Regions from separate parts of the Homo sapiens genome. Here region 2 is linked to region 1. Evidence: promoter capture Hi-C in human tissues and cell types (Jung and others, 2019). All regions are on one chromosome and are shown on one strand. Each heading gives the region's core, a stretch centred on a gene start or on the middle of the fragment in contact. The rest is flanking DNA. Distances are from core to core; before and after follow the strand shown.

The links. The method cuts DNA at HindIII sites, captures the fragments that hold promoters and counts their contacts. A contact is called where the count stands out against the background at its distance.
Region 2: a fragment that was not itself captured here is called in contact with the fragment with the promoter of PDX1 in region 1 in 3 of the 25 tissues and cell types used here (H1 embryonic stem cells, mesendoderm cells and small bowel).

Annotation. Positions count from the first base shown.
Region 1 is chr13:27,915,859-27,922,123 of GRCh38, reverse strand. It overlaps PDX1 (pancreatic and duodenal homeobox 1), which reads right to left and starts at 2,124. Exons shown (of 2, transcript NM_000209.4): 1 at 1,580-2,124. The coding sequence starts at 1,985. PLUT (PDX1 associated lncRNA, upregulator of transcription) reads left to right here and starts at 4,833. Exons shown (of 5, transcript NR_047484.2): 1 at 4,833-4,974. The HindIII fragment of the contact is 14,480 bases long and covers 1-6,265 here.
Region 2 is chr13:27,826,096-27,832,503 of GRCh38, reverse strand. All of the region lies in intron 3 of PLUT (PDX1 associated lncRNA, upregulator of transcription), which reads left to right. LOC124903139 (a long non-coding RNA gene) reads right to left here and starts at 2,294. Exons shown (of 2, transcript XR_007063734.1): 1 at 2,102-2,294. It also overlaps the pseudogene RNU6-73P. RefSeq lists an enhancer at 5,141-5,640. The HindIII fragment of the contact is 3,272 bases long and covers 1,404-4,675 here.

The sequences.
Region 1 (6,265 bases), core at 875-3,374:
CACAAATCCTCTTTCGGGACCCTGATGTCGCCCATTTCCTGAGGAAGGCCCAGGGTGGGAAAGCAGGAGCTCCGAGGGCCTAGGAGGCCAGAAGAGAGGTCTGGAGGGGAGGCAGCCCTGGAAGAAAACTGGGTGAGGACGAGGAGCCCCCCACCTTTGTTCGAGGGACTGTCCTCCCGCCTCCTAAGAACCCCGCATTTCCGGAGACTTCAAGGCCTTTGGCCCGGGCTGCGCGAGCTGGATAAATTTGCAGAGGCGCCGCGGCAGCTTCTGGCGCCCCTGTCAACTGGGTTTCGCTGGAGGTGGGGACGATTGCAGCGCAGTTCAGCCCTCGTCCTGCCTCAGGACCTTCGCCTTAGCAAGAAAGTGAACTAGGAAGAAGAGAGTCCCGTGGACCCCAGGCAAGCTGGGGTCCCCCTCCCTCTCCCGCACAAAGCCCCTCCTGGCTGCGCCTGGGGTCAGTGTCAGGCAGGGCTGGCCAGACCCCGCAGATGGGCGCTGAGGATTTTCGGGGTGGGCCGGGGGACGCCGGCTCGAGCTGCTTCCCCCTACTCCCGGCTGCCAGTTGAAAGGAAAAGGCAACTATTTGCGGTGCAGGTGTGACCAGAAGTGGCTGAGGCACGGCAGCGATGACAGTGAGTAGCGGCGACGACACAGGCCGCGCCGGAACTTGCCGCTCGCGCGGGGCCGCAAAGGACCCGGGGGCTACCCCGTGCCTCCGGCTCCCGGCTCCGGGAAAGACCTTCTGTTCTCTGCCGGCGCGGAGGGCCGCAGGAACCAGGCCTCTCGCCTCCCCACCAGCTAGGCAGGGAGCGCCCATCTCCTGAAAAATTACTTCCTGGGAAGCGGTGCGGGGAGACAGCTTCAATTGCTTTCGGTTGGTGAAAAACGAATTCGCTTCTCAGATTGCTCTCCTAGCTGCCAGGCTCTGACGTTGAGAGGCCGGCTTTCAGCCTCGCGGTGAGCCCCCGCCTTGCCCCAGCCCCTTCCTCTTTACTCCTATCCTGTTTCCACAACCAGGGCAGCCGGACACTGCTGGGTTGGGTGCAGTTTCCTTTCCCTCCCTGCCTTTCTGCACCTACCTGGCGCCCCTAGATGCCTGCCCTTCCTTAACGAAGCGCGGGAAGTGAGGGGCTCCGGGGCTCCGAAGGCGATCTGGGGCCTGGGTCCGAGGCACCCATGTCCCTACTCGGCTTCCTCGATGTGCACTACCAAGGAGTCCTGGGTTCCCGGATCCCCTGCTGGAGGAGGATCTGTAGTGTCCGAAGCCCTGAGCAGGACTCAGCCTCGGCTCTCTAAGGATGGCGCTGGGAGCGCGGGCTCCTGGGGCGAAGATGGGCTCAGCGAACAGGGAAGGAAGGAGTGTACACTCCCAGGAGAGCTGGGTGGGAAAGATGCTTCAAACTGGACTAGAGAAGCACTGCTGTGAGGGATGGGCTCGGTAGCTCCCTGATGTAGTTTAGTCCGACCCGGGATAATCCAAGGCGCCGGGAACAGAGAGAAGGCTCCTGGGAGCGCTTGGAGGTAAGGCGGCCGGGTGAGAACCGGAAAGGAGAAAGGGGTGGGGAGCCAGGCTTACCTGCCCACTGGCCTTTCCACGCGTGAGCTTTGGTAGACTTCATCCATGGGAAAGGCAGCTGGACGCGGTTGGGCTCCTCCAGGACGCCCGGCTCGGCTCCCTCCGGGAAGGGCCCGGCGGGCGGGTGGGGGAGCGCGAGCTGAGCCGGGAGGTGGTGGTGAAGGTGCGCCACCGCGGGGTCGTCGGCGAGGGGGGGCACCTCGTACGGGGAGATGTCCGGGGGGCTGCCCTGCTCCAGCGCGCCCAGGGCGCCAGGGAACGGGTGCGGCGGCGGCGGCGGGGGCTGGCGGCCCATGTACAGGCACGCAGGGGGGCTGGCGCTGAACTCCGGCGCCGGGCCTCGCTGGAACGCGCATGGGTCCTTGTAAAGCTGCGTGGCCGCGTAGTACTGCTCCTCGCCGTTCATGGCTGCGGCCCGGGATTGGGCACCGGGAGCCGGGAGCCGGGAGCCGGGAGTCGGGAGCTGGAGCCGGGGATTTGGCACTGTGTGGCGTTCCCACTCCCGGCGCCACCCCTGCTCGCTTTGACAGCTCCGCACTGATCTCAGAGGGAACCCACAGCCAGCGCGGACCGGCGGGCCGGCCGCCGCACCATAGGCTCCGCGGGGCCCCACGTGGTTCAGCCGGGGGCCGTGATTGGCCTGGCTGGCCGCACTAAGAGGCTAGGCCCAGGTACCCGCGAGCACCTGCTTTTGTTCCAATTTTCTCTCTCAGCTGAGTTTGCTGCACACTCCTGAACGGGCAGCTGGCGGTGCTCCCCAAAATGGGCGCTCACGAAAACATTAGAACCACTCATTTATAGAAACATTTTCACCGTGGCTTAAAAGTTTCTATTTTCCTATATTTTTCTATTTTCTATTTTCCTATATTTTTTCTATTATATTTGATAATGGACATAGTGTGTTTGTTAATTGATGTAGTTTACAAGGAGACATGTTGAGTTTTTAATTTTTTATTTAACTGTTGCGGAATACGATAAAAAAAAAGTTTGCAGACCCAGCTCTCTAGGTCAGAAGCATTTGATTCTATTTTATTTATGAAGTTTGTTCACAGCCACAAAGATGTCGGTTAAAAAACACACGAAACTCTGGCATTCGTTGTGTGTTTTTACTTGTGGATGTGCTGCAAGTACTTCTGGGGTGTAAACGGTAACTTCTGAAGCATTCACAGAGACTTTTTTAAATTCTTTTTTTTAAAAAATTGAAGGGTATTACAAATTTGGGTTTTGGAAAATTGGGGCCCATTTGGCCAGCCCGGAACGTAGCTTCCCAATACAGCGAGGGGGAAAGACGCGGCCTTCCTCTTGGGGCTGCGAAGCAGGGGCAGGTGTTGGCACGGGGGTTCCAGACCCTTGACGACTCTCTACGGGCCGGGACCCTGGCGGAGTTTGCCGGCAGAGAACACTCACTCTCTTCTGCTTGCAATTGAAATAAGGCAAGCAGGAGAGGGGGAAGTGGAGGAAGAGTTACATATTTAGAAAAAGAAATAAAAACGCTGCATTTTCCATGATAACATCTGTGCTTGGCTTCAAACCATTCAGTAACTTCTGGGCATTCTGGGGTCCTGACTTAAACAGGGCCACTTTTTCTGCACCCACTGACGCGGATGGATGACCTCCGGGTGGCGGTGACGTCCAACCCCCTGCCTGGGCATGATCCGCTAGGCCTGGCGGCCTGACCAGCCTCTGACTGGATACTCCCGAAATGAGGACGTTTCTCGAAACGCCACCGTGGGTTTTAGAAAAACTAGACAGCTTTGCAGAAACGTCTCAGCAAGAGAGAGCTTGAACCACAAAGAACCAAGCCAGAGAAAAATCACTGCTCCGCCTTTCCTAAACAACGCACCAACATCCAGACCTTTGAGAGTCAATCTTAATGTATTTCTTTCTTCCTACTGGAAATATTTGTGTTTTAAGTGCGGATTGAGTGCTCTATTCTGAGGACTCTTTATTTTTATTAAAAGACAAAAAAGCCAGTCGGGAATGTGGACTTCTCTGCAGATTCCTTCTCTTGCGGGAGGCCGGTATAGTCTCAGCATTTGCTTCGATGTGTGAGAACTCATGTGTGTGGCTTCCTGGCCTGTGGCCTCATGTGTGTGGCTCTGATGTGTGGCTCCCTGGCTTGTAGATGCCCTTGCTGTCACCGAAGACAGGCCAAGGGAAGCACGGCGGCGGGCGGGGAGAGTTTCGGTGATTTCTTCAGGGAAAAGTGCCACCTGCAGTTTTGGTGGGGGCAGAGAGTGAAAGGCCGTGGGGCCCGGGCACCTAATCTCTGTGCGCCCGCGTCAATGAGTCCATTGTCTGCGGCCGCGGAGAACTCTACCCTATCACCCTGGCCGCGAGTGACCACATCGATCAGGAGGGCAGGCTGGAGGGGGTTGCCTGGCCGCGGCGTGTTGACCCTTGGAGATAATCTGCCGAGTCGCCGAGGGTTGACTTGGCGACGCGGTTATGAGCGGACGGCAAGCTCCGCTCAGGACAAAGATCGGCCACTTTTCCCCTCCCCCTCCTTTTCCTCCCCCTTCCCCTCCTCCCTGGGCACCCCTACACCCACTCTGGACTCAGTCTGCGCCCCACTCTCCCTCCCCTGCTCCCTGCCTCGCCTGCCACCCCCGGAGTGTTTACTTTGCACTTCTCAACTAATTGCACATTTCTGTAAATTGGTCTCCATTTCGATGCTTCATTTGCTTCCATTTAATATTTTTGCTCGGCCCTGCAGAAAGAAAAGAGGCTCTCAGCAGAAAGCAAATCCGCCGGTTGCGGTCGCCGGCAAAAACCCGGGTACCCGCGGCTGTGGGGGAGGAGGAGGGGATCGCCGGGGGTATTCCATGGAGGCGCGTTCTCACTTTCACAATTAGCATTTTCTGCTGCCTGCGACCTATAGAAGGGACCCAGGGAGCAAAGGTCAAACAACCATTTATTATTGTTATTATTATTATTAGATGAAACAAAGTTATCTGGAATTTTATCACGTACAGCCGTATAAAAAACGCATCAAGCGGAACCCTCCGCTTAGTAAGGTCGTGTGTTGTACTTCCCCGTGGATCTAGCTCCTGGTATCGTAAAATCGCCGAGTCCATTACAGGCGAAATGCGTTTCCGCTCTGAATCCCCGCTGACGCCTGCGCCCCCTCCAAGCCGCCTCGCCCACAACAGGCCCGGCAGCGATACCGAGCCATTAGGCGAGCACCTTCCCGAGCCATTTAACAGCAGCTCTTATGGATAAATAAACAAAAAAGGCTGTAAACCAATTAAAGTGTGGACAGTGAAAAAGTCGTTTATTAGCTGGACGTCCTGATAGTCCTCGCTGATACTGGAGGTCCTTGCCGGCCCTCTTCCCCCTTTCCCTTCACAGAGACGCGGTTTACACCCGGGAGAACACAGGTTACCTTGTTCTTGGTAAGTGGCTAAGTCTTCCTCGGTGGTTTCAGAGGCATGCTAAGGGCTGAATTTGGCTTGGTGATAGGATTTTTAAGCCACTGCATCCCATTATAAATGAAAAAAACAGATGAATCCCACTTAACTCCAAGGTATACATCATGAATGCACGTGGAATTTATATTCATTTTATAATTAAATCTCTGTTGAAAATAAAAATTGTTTCTTGAGTTGGAAAATTCTGTAAAGCAAACGATGTGATGTGTGGAATGAGAATACTTCTATAATTGATTGCACTTTAGTTCATTAGCATTTCCTTCAATGAGCACTAATGCAGGCAGGTTTTCATTTTCCTAAGTCGAATCAATGTTTCCCTCCTGCTGGTTTATGAATACCCAGAATTGGCCGAGGGCGGTGGCTCACGCCTGTAATCCCAGCACTTTGGGAGGCTGAGACAGGCGGATCATGAGGTCAGGAGATCGAGACCATCCTGGCTAACATGATGAAACCCCGTCTCTACTAAACCTACAAAAAAATTTAGCCGGGCGTGGTGGCGGGCGCCTGTAGTTCCAGCTACTTGGGAGGCTGAGGAAGGAGAATGGCGTGAACCCAGGAGGCGGAGCTTGCAGTGATCCGAGATCGCGCCACTGCCCTCCAGCCTGGGAGACAGAGCGAGGCTCCGTCTCAAAAAATTAAAAATATATATATATATATAAATAAATACCCAGAATTTGGTATCCAGGTCTGAGAGGGGCCAGGGAAACCCAGCTTGGGTTGTGGGGATTGGAGAGAGGAAAGGACCTCAGACTTTGAATGAAGGGTTTTCCAATATTCCTAGGGCTAAGCAATCTAGTGAAAATAAGCAGAGAGCTGAAATTATTTTCCAGATGATTCAGTGATCCCTGAACTGTAAAGATAAAAGCAGCTTAAAAACCGAATTGAATTGGGTAATTGTCTTATTCCCTACCTTGTTAGCTCTCTCTGGTGTAAGAGGAGTAGAAGGGCAGGAGGGGGGACTCCGTGTGCCCCAGAACTGTCTGCTGCTTCCTCCAGCCACTGCTCAACGCTTCCTCCCTGGGAGTGGGGCCCCCAGGCACGAGCTCTTTCCACTTTTGGTTTAATCCTTCCGTGGTCCTCAGTTCACTCTGCTGATGAAAGGAAAAGTATGAAAGGACTTTCAGGCTCCAAAGGATCTGAGGTCAGCTGTTGCTCCCCACTCCTGGTGTTCCCGGTGGCTCACCCCCTACAGCTCTGGACTCACCCCTTTGGTTGTCTCATCTCTGGTTCTACCTTCCAGATGTGCAGTCTCCAG
Region 2 (6,408 bases), core at 1,790-4,289, 91 kb after region 1:
TAATTTTAAGGCTGAATAATATGTCATTGTATGTGTATACCACATTTTGTTTATCCATTCATTCACTGATGGACATTTGGGTTATGTCCACCTTTGACTATTGTGAATAATGCTGCTATGAACACATACAAACATCTCTGCAAGTCCTTGCTTCCAATTCTTTTGCGTATATACCCTGAAGTGAAATTTCGGGATCGTATTGTAATTCTGTTTAATTTTTTAAGAAACTGTCATTCTGTTTTCCATAGCAGCTACACCATTTTACATTCCCACCAATAGTGTGCTCCAATTTCTCCACATCCTTGCCAATATAGACTTTTCTCTTTGGGCTAGCATTAAGCTATATGACCAGAACATAACAAGTAGCTGAAGAACCCATCCACCATTTACGTTTATCATTATTTTTTCCTCTGGATGAATTAAGTTAGAAAGAAAGGAGATATTGCTTTAGCTACTAGAGTTTAGCACTTAAACACTTCTTCATGAAATCCAGTTACTCTCAATCAGAGTAAAATAAAACCATGAGGGTTATTTTGAGCCAATCTTCAGGGTTTGAGGTAATGATAGTAATATTCTAAGAGTTCACATTTATATAGGACGTGTTTGTGCTTGGCACTGACCAATCACTTTCTATATATGACCTCATTGAATCCTCCCAACACCCTTAGGAGACAAGCACTATGATCACCTCCACCTGAAGATGAGAGAATTGGGGCCTAGTAAGGTTGTGGCTTGTGTAAAGATGCAGAAAGTTTGCAAGGCAGTGTCCAAGCCCAGCCTACACCATCACACTGCATTCCTACAAAAAGCCACACCCATCAATAGGTGGACATTACCTGTGCAAAAGATGTACGGACAAGAATATTTAATGCAAATGTGTTATAAAAGTTTAACATTGGGCCGGGTGTGGTGGCTCACTCCTGTAATCCCAGCACTTTGGGAGGCCGAGGCGGGCAGATCACCTGAGGTCAGGAGTTCTAGACCAGCCTGGCCAACATGGTGAAACCGCGTCTCTGTTTAAAATACAAAAATTAGCCGGGTGTGATGGAAGGTATCTGTAATGCCGGCTATTCAGGAGGCTGAGGCGGGAGAATTGCTTGAACCTGGGAGGCAGAGCTTGCAGTGAACTGAGATCATGCCACTGCACTCCAGCCTGGGTGACAGAGCCAGACTCCATCTCAAAAAAAAAAAAAAAAAAAAGTTGAACATTGGAAAAAGCTTATATGCCCATCAATAAGGGTTTGATTAAACTAATGAAGGTGCACCCATTGAAGGGAATAGTTATGCATCTGTTAGAAATTATGATGTAGATATATATTAGTTGACATGGAAAAGTGTTCAAGCTATATTGATGATCAAAAAAAAAAAGTAGTTGCAAAGCAATAAGGATGGTGTAATCCAGTGTTAGTAAACTGATATAAATTTGTATTGATACAAGTTTTGATATATAAGTTTAAAAGGCTGGAAAATTATAGAGCAAAAATATTAACAATGATCGCCTTGATGTGGGAGGATTTCTGGCAATTAAAATAATGGCATCTTCTCAATTTTCCTTACAATGTTTATATAATAGAGAATAGAATGAAAGCTTAACAACACACACCACCAACCTTTCACTAAAAGTTTCCCTTGTGCCCCAGACTGGAAATCAGCCCCACTGCATTCAAAGGTGCTGTGACTTTGGACAAGTTCCTTCTCCTCTTTGGGCCTCCTTTTTAATCTAATAATAAAAAGGCGGTTTAATTTCAAAAGTTTCTTCCAGCTCTAACGCTCCTTGATTGAATGACTCCCAATCCCGGCGGAGGTTCTTTAAAAAACGGCCTACTGGGATTTACATGTGGGTAAATGGTCTCTTCAGCCCGTTTTCTTTGATCTAAGTTAGTGCATTGCACCAGTGTTGTGTCAAATCATCCTGGGAAAAAGTAGCTTTTCCCAGAAAGACAAATTTTAACCAAAGTAGCTTTTCCCAGAAAGACAAAATTTAACCTAAGACATTAAAAAAACCAACCAAACAAACAAAAAGCACTACACACTGAACGGACTCCACAAGCCAAGCAGAAAAACAAAAAACAACGAACCACATCCCCCTTCCCACCCTTACCCCAGACTCTTAGCTTCTTTCTGAATATCGCATGTCACCTGTACACCTGAATAGTCATAGTAGCTGGCATTTATTTTTACGGATGTCCATAGAGTCACTTATAGCATTTTCTCCCACAGAAGCACAGCGAAATCACAGCCGAGCAGAGGAGGGCAAGGGAGAGGGCCGCCCCAGTCTGAGAGCTGCAGGGTCTGGCTGGAACTGCTCCCGGCCAGCGGACTTCACCCGGGCGCGGGGGCCGCACCTGCCGGGCGCGGCCTGCTCTATGGCGCCCTCTGCTGTTAGTCCGCCCCAGGCTCCGCGCCGGCCTCTCCTGGGTCCGTGGGGCCTGCGGGCTGCGGGGATCACCGAGACCCACATTCCCGTGGCCAGCAGCCTTTCGCTCTGCTCAGAGGAGAGGCAGAAGGGCATATTGCTGTTTCCCAGTCGCTTTTTACACCTGCCTTCTTCGGATAAACCCAAAAATCTTCCTTCAGAGAAGACGGCCCGTATTTCCCGTTATTTGGGGGTGGAGGTGGGGCTAAGGGCGTCATAGGGAGAGCCTTACTTTCAACATTCTGCATTATGAAACCAAGGGAGACTTTTTTTCCCAACAAGTGTGAACATTTTTTTTCAAGAGAATTAAATCGTTTATTGATTACACATGATAATGGATGACACACAAGCTTCATTCCCATCTCTAATTTTATCTGGTACCGTTATTCAATTTAGATATATTGCATAGGATGTGCCAACAATCACTTTTATCACCAATAATTCCACGATTTTGCTTGAGTAATCCCTTTTAATGGTGAACTTCAGGTCACAACAGTAACTATCAGTTCAACTACACCAAGGTTTCTGAAGACAATGGCTTCTCCGCCCAAGCAGGTTGCATATAAATTCCAAATAGAACCTGGCATCACCCTGAAGGAATTCTAACTTCACACTGTTGGGAAAATTTACCGAGATGGCTTCAGAGTAGACTAACTTTACACAGCACATTTTTTAAAAAAGACATTTATTCAGCGTCACGATCAGACTATTACATTTAGCAATCAACAGCATGGGTGAAAAAAAAATCTACATTAAAACCCTTTGTTGGAATGCTTTACACTTTCCACAGAACAGAAACTAAAATAACCTCTTATACAATTAGTCACAAATACAGTCCTCAAGTTTTTTGCCCATACACGAGTATTTGTCTAAAACATGACTTGTTTGTAGCAGCTAGGCCTTGCCACCACTGTGCTTGGCTGAGTTCACAAACCTCTTGTAACCTGTAGCTTCCTTGTCACTTCTCTGGCTCTCCCTTCCTGCTAAGCTTTGTTTACTAATTAAAATCTTCTGCCAAAGCCATAGCTGCTGCTGCTACTGGATCCACCATAGCCACCTTGGTTTCGTGGTTTGGCAAAGTATTGGCCTCCACCACCACAGGGGCCAGAGCTTCTGCCTCCAAAATTTCCTCCCTTCATGGGTCCAAAATTTGAAGACTGATTATTGTAATTGCCAAAATCATTGTAGCTTCCACTACCTCCAAAATTGCTTCCACTAAAAAATATGGAACGCTTCACGAATTTGCATGTCATCCTTGCACAGGGGCCATGCTAATCTTCTCTGTATTGTTTCAGTTTTAGTATATGTGCTGCCAAAGCTAGCACAAGTGTGAACATTGACTATGCTTCTCACATATCTTTACAGCCCCACTCTAAGGGGACTCTGTCTTGGAGAACCAACTGTTCTAGAATTTTCTAACCTGCCTCCTGCAGCCCCTCTCCCCATTTCTTCTCCTAGGGAGTCTTCCAGATGGTGCAGTTCACCTAGGAACTGCATGTCTGCTTGCTGAGGGTGTGGCAGGAGTCAAGTCACTAAACCTTTATGAGTGAATACTGTCAACCTTATACAGCCCATTCATTTCTTCACCAATTCCATCCATGTCAACTCAACAACTACTCCAGCTGACCCTGGAGCTTGGTACTGGGGATACATCTCATACAAAAGGATGCTTTCCTTCCTGTCCCAAAATGTATCAGCCCCCGAGGGATCATACACAATAGATACACAAATGGTTGCATGTAAATGCAAAGAACATGTTGCAATGAGAAAGAATAATATAGGTTGTGAGCTCACAGGAGGAACATTAAAGCTGAGCCTGCAGGATAAATAAGAATAAACCAGTGAAAAACGCTGAACCATGACTCTGAGATGGGAAGGTGGCATAAATTCCAGGAGAGGCATGTGGCTGGATCATCAGGAATGGGGAGAGCAGAAACCCCAAAGAAGGTTGGAGAATTAGGCAGAGGGCGGATTAGGTGAACCCTGGAGGGCCAAGCTAATAATTTTGAGTCAAATTACAGAGTGCAGTGGAGAGCCCCTGAATTTATTTTTAGTAATTGACATGATCTGAGGTGGGGTTTGCAAGGATCCTTCTGGCTGGTGTGACAGGAGGGAGGCAGGGTGAGGGTAGGAGCCTTGGAGCTGAAGATAGATGGGAAATTGGTTCCTGGTGGTAGCAGTCCAAGTGGCAGGAAGTCGCCAGCCGCAGAGCATGCTTTGAAGGCAGAGTGGAGGACAGGCTGGCATGTTGCCTGTGGGGCTAAGGAGGAGAGAAGTGTTATGGATAGCTTCTCCATCTCCATCCCTGACAGGCAGAACTCAGGGAAGAGCAGTTTCAGGGAGTAGCATTAACTTGCATATAAAATTATGGAGGTGAAATTAGCCTGCCAGGGCCTGCCTGAATCGGAAGCTCTGTCATAAGTGGACTGTTGATCCGTGGACACAGAAACGTTGCTGTCTAGGGAGACGCATCTGATGCCAACTGGTGTATTCATAGCACTTGATGAGGGTGTTTATTGAGTAGTACTGTTTTGATGTTTGGGATATTTAAAAAAAGAAAATTGAGAAGTGTGTTTTCATGTGACGACTTTGCATTTTAATTTTATTTTTAAATGTAAAGATTAAGGAAAACATGCATCTAACTCTGGTAGAAGAACTAAAGTGAAAATGGAACCTAGGAATGGGATAGTGGGTGGAGGAGGGAGGAGGCTTGTCCAAGCCAAGTCAGGAATTGGGCCAGATTCATTACAGTAGCCTTTGGAAATCGTAATCAAGTGACAGTCTCTCACGCTTTGGCATCAATACAGCACTACTAGGGCCATGAAGTAAGAGTAAACACCGGATGCATATGAGTCATGGCAGCTTGCACTAATCTTTGAGCAGTAATTGAGATGATCTCAATAAAGTGAGAAGACCGTAATGTAATATAACCGAGATGCCTATAATAATCGCCATGCCACCATGACAGCATCCAGTCAGCTGAGGTCGGCGACAAACAGAATCAGCCGGAGCTAAGGGGGGCAGGGGCTCAGGCCCACCTGCAGCCCACCCATCAGCACCCCTGTGTGGCAGAAGCTCTGGGGAGAGCCTTTGTCCTTTGCTAGCTCCTGGGATTTTAGGTAGGTGGGGGAGCAGGAAGGGAAGAAAGAGCAGGGACTGCTGAGTTCCAAATAAGTTCCAGGTCCCCATGGGAGCAGAGCTGCTCTTGGATGCCTGTGCGAGGTTCTCCCGGCTTTGGGGGAGCCTCCGGAGCTCCTTGGGGAGGGTCCTCCCGACTTGGGAAGGCTTCCTAGCTATGGCGGCCACGCACAGGCAGGGGGCGCTGCGACTTCACAGTTTCAAAGCCGGACTCCTATTCAGCGAACGCCTTGGTGAGTTTCCTGAGTTCTCCGAGGAGACGCTGGGAGCCTGCACACCCAGGGTGTAACTGCCAACGCCTGCAGAGAGGGAACCTCCTCGTGCCGTCCGTGGAGCCCAGAGCTGGGCTTTCCTCGGCCCACTCACCCCTGCCTGGCACTCTGTCCTAAAGCTTCCCCTCAAGGAGACAAAGACATTGACACTTTATTTTATCCTGAGCTCCTGGCTCATTGATCTCATGCTGCAAACCAAGCAAGTGGACGCGCTCCCCCTAACGGCTCTGCTCTTTAGTCATCCTTTCCTAACAAAGTGAATGGCTGGGGCTGGCTCCATCAAAACCTGCAGTAGGAAGTACCTGATTTGAGCAACTATTCATGGTAGAAGGGTGTGCAGAATGCCTTGAGCTAAGAAGGGGAACTTTCAAACAGCAGGCGTTTAACAGTTTTCCCGTCTGGAGCCAGCTGCCACCCAACCCCAATCCCACAAAGCAGCTGAAGCTCAGAGGCACGTTTCTTTTGCAGCATGGAATCGGGGCGGGTGAAGGTGGGACCTGGGTATGTGTGCATAGCAGGGGCATTTCTAAGGAACTCACGACACTGGGGATTGGTTTTTCCTTCCTGCTAAGACTGGGCTGG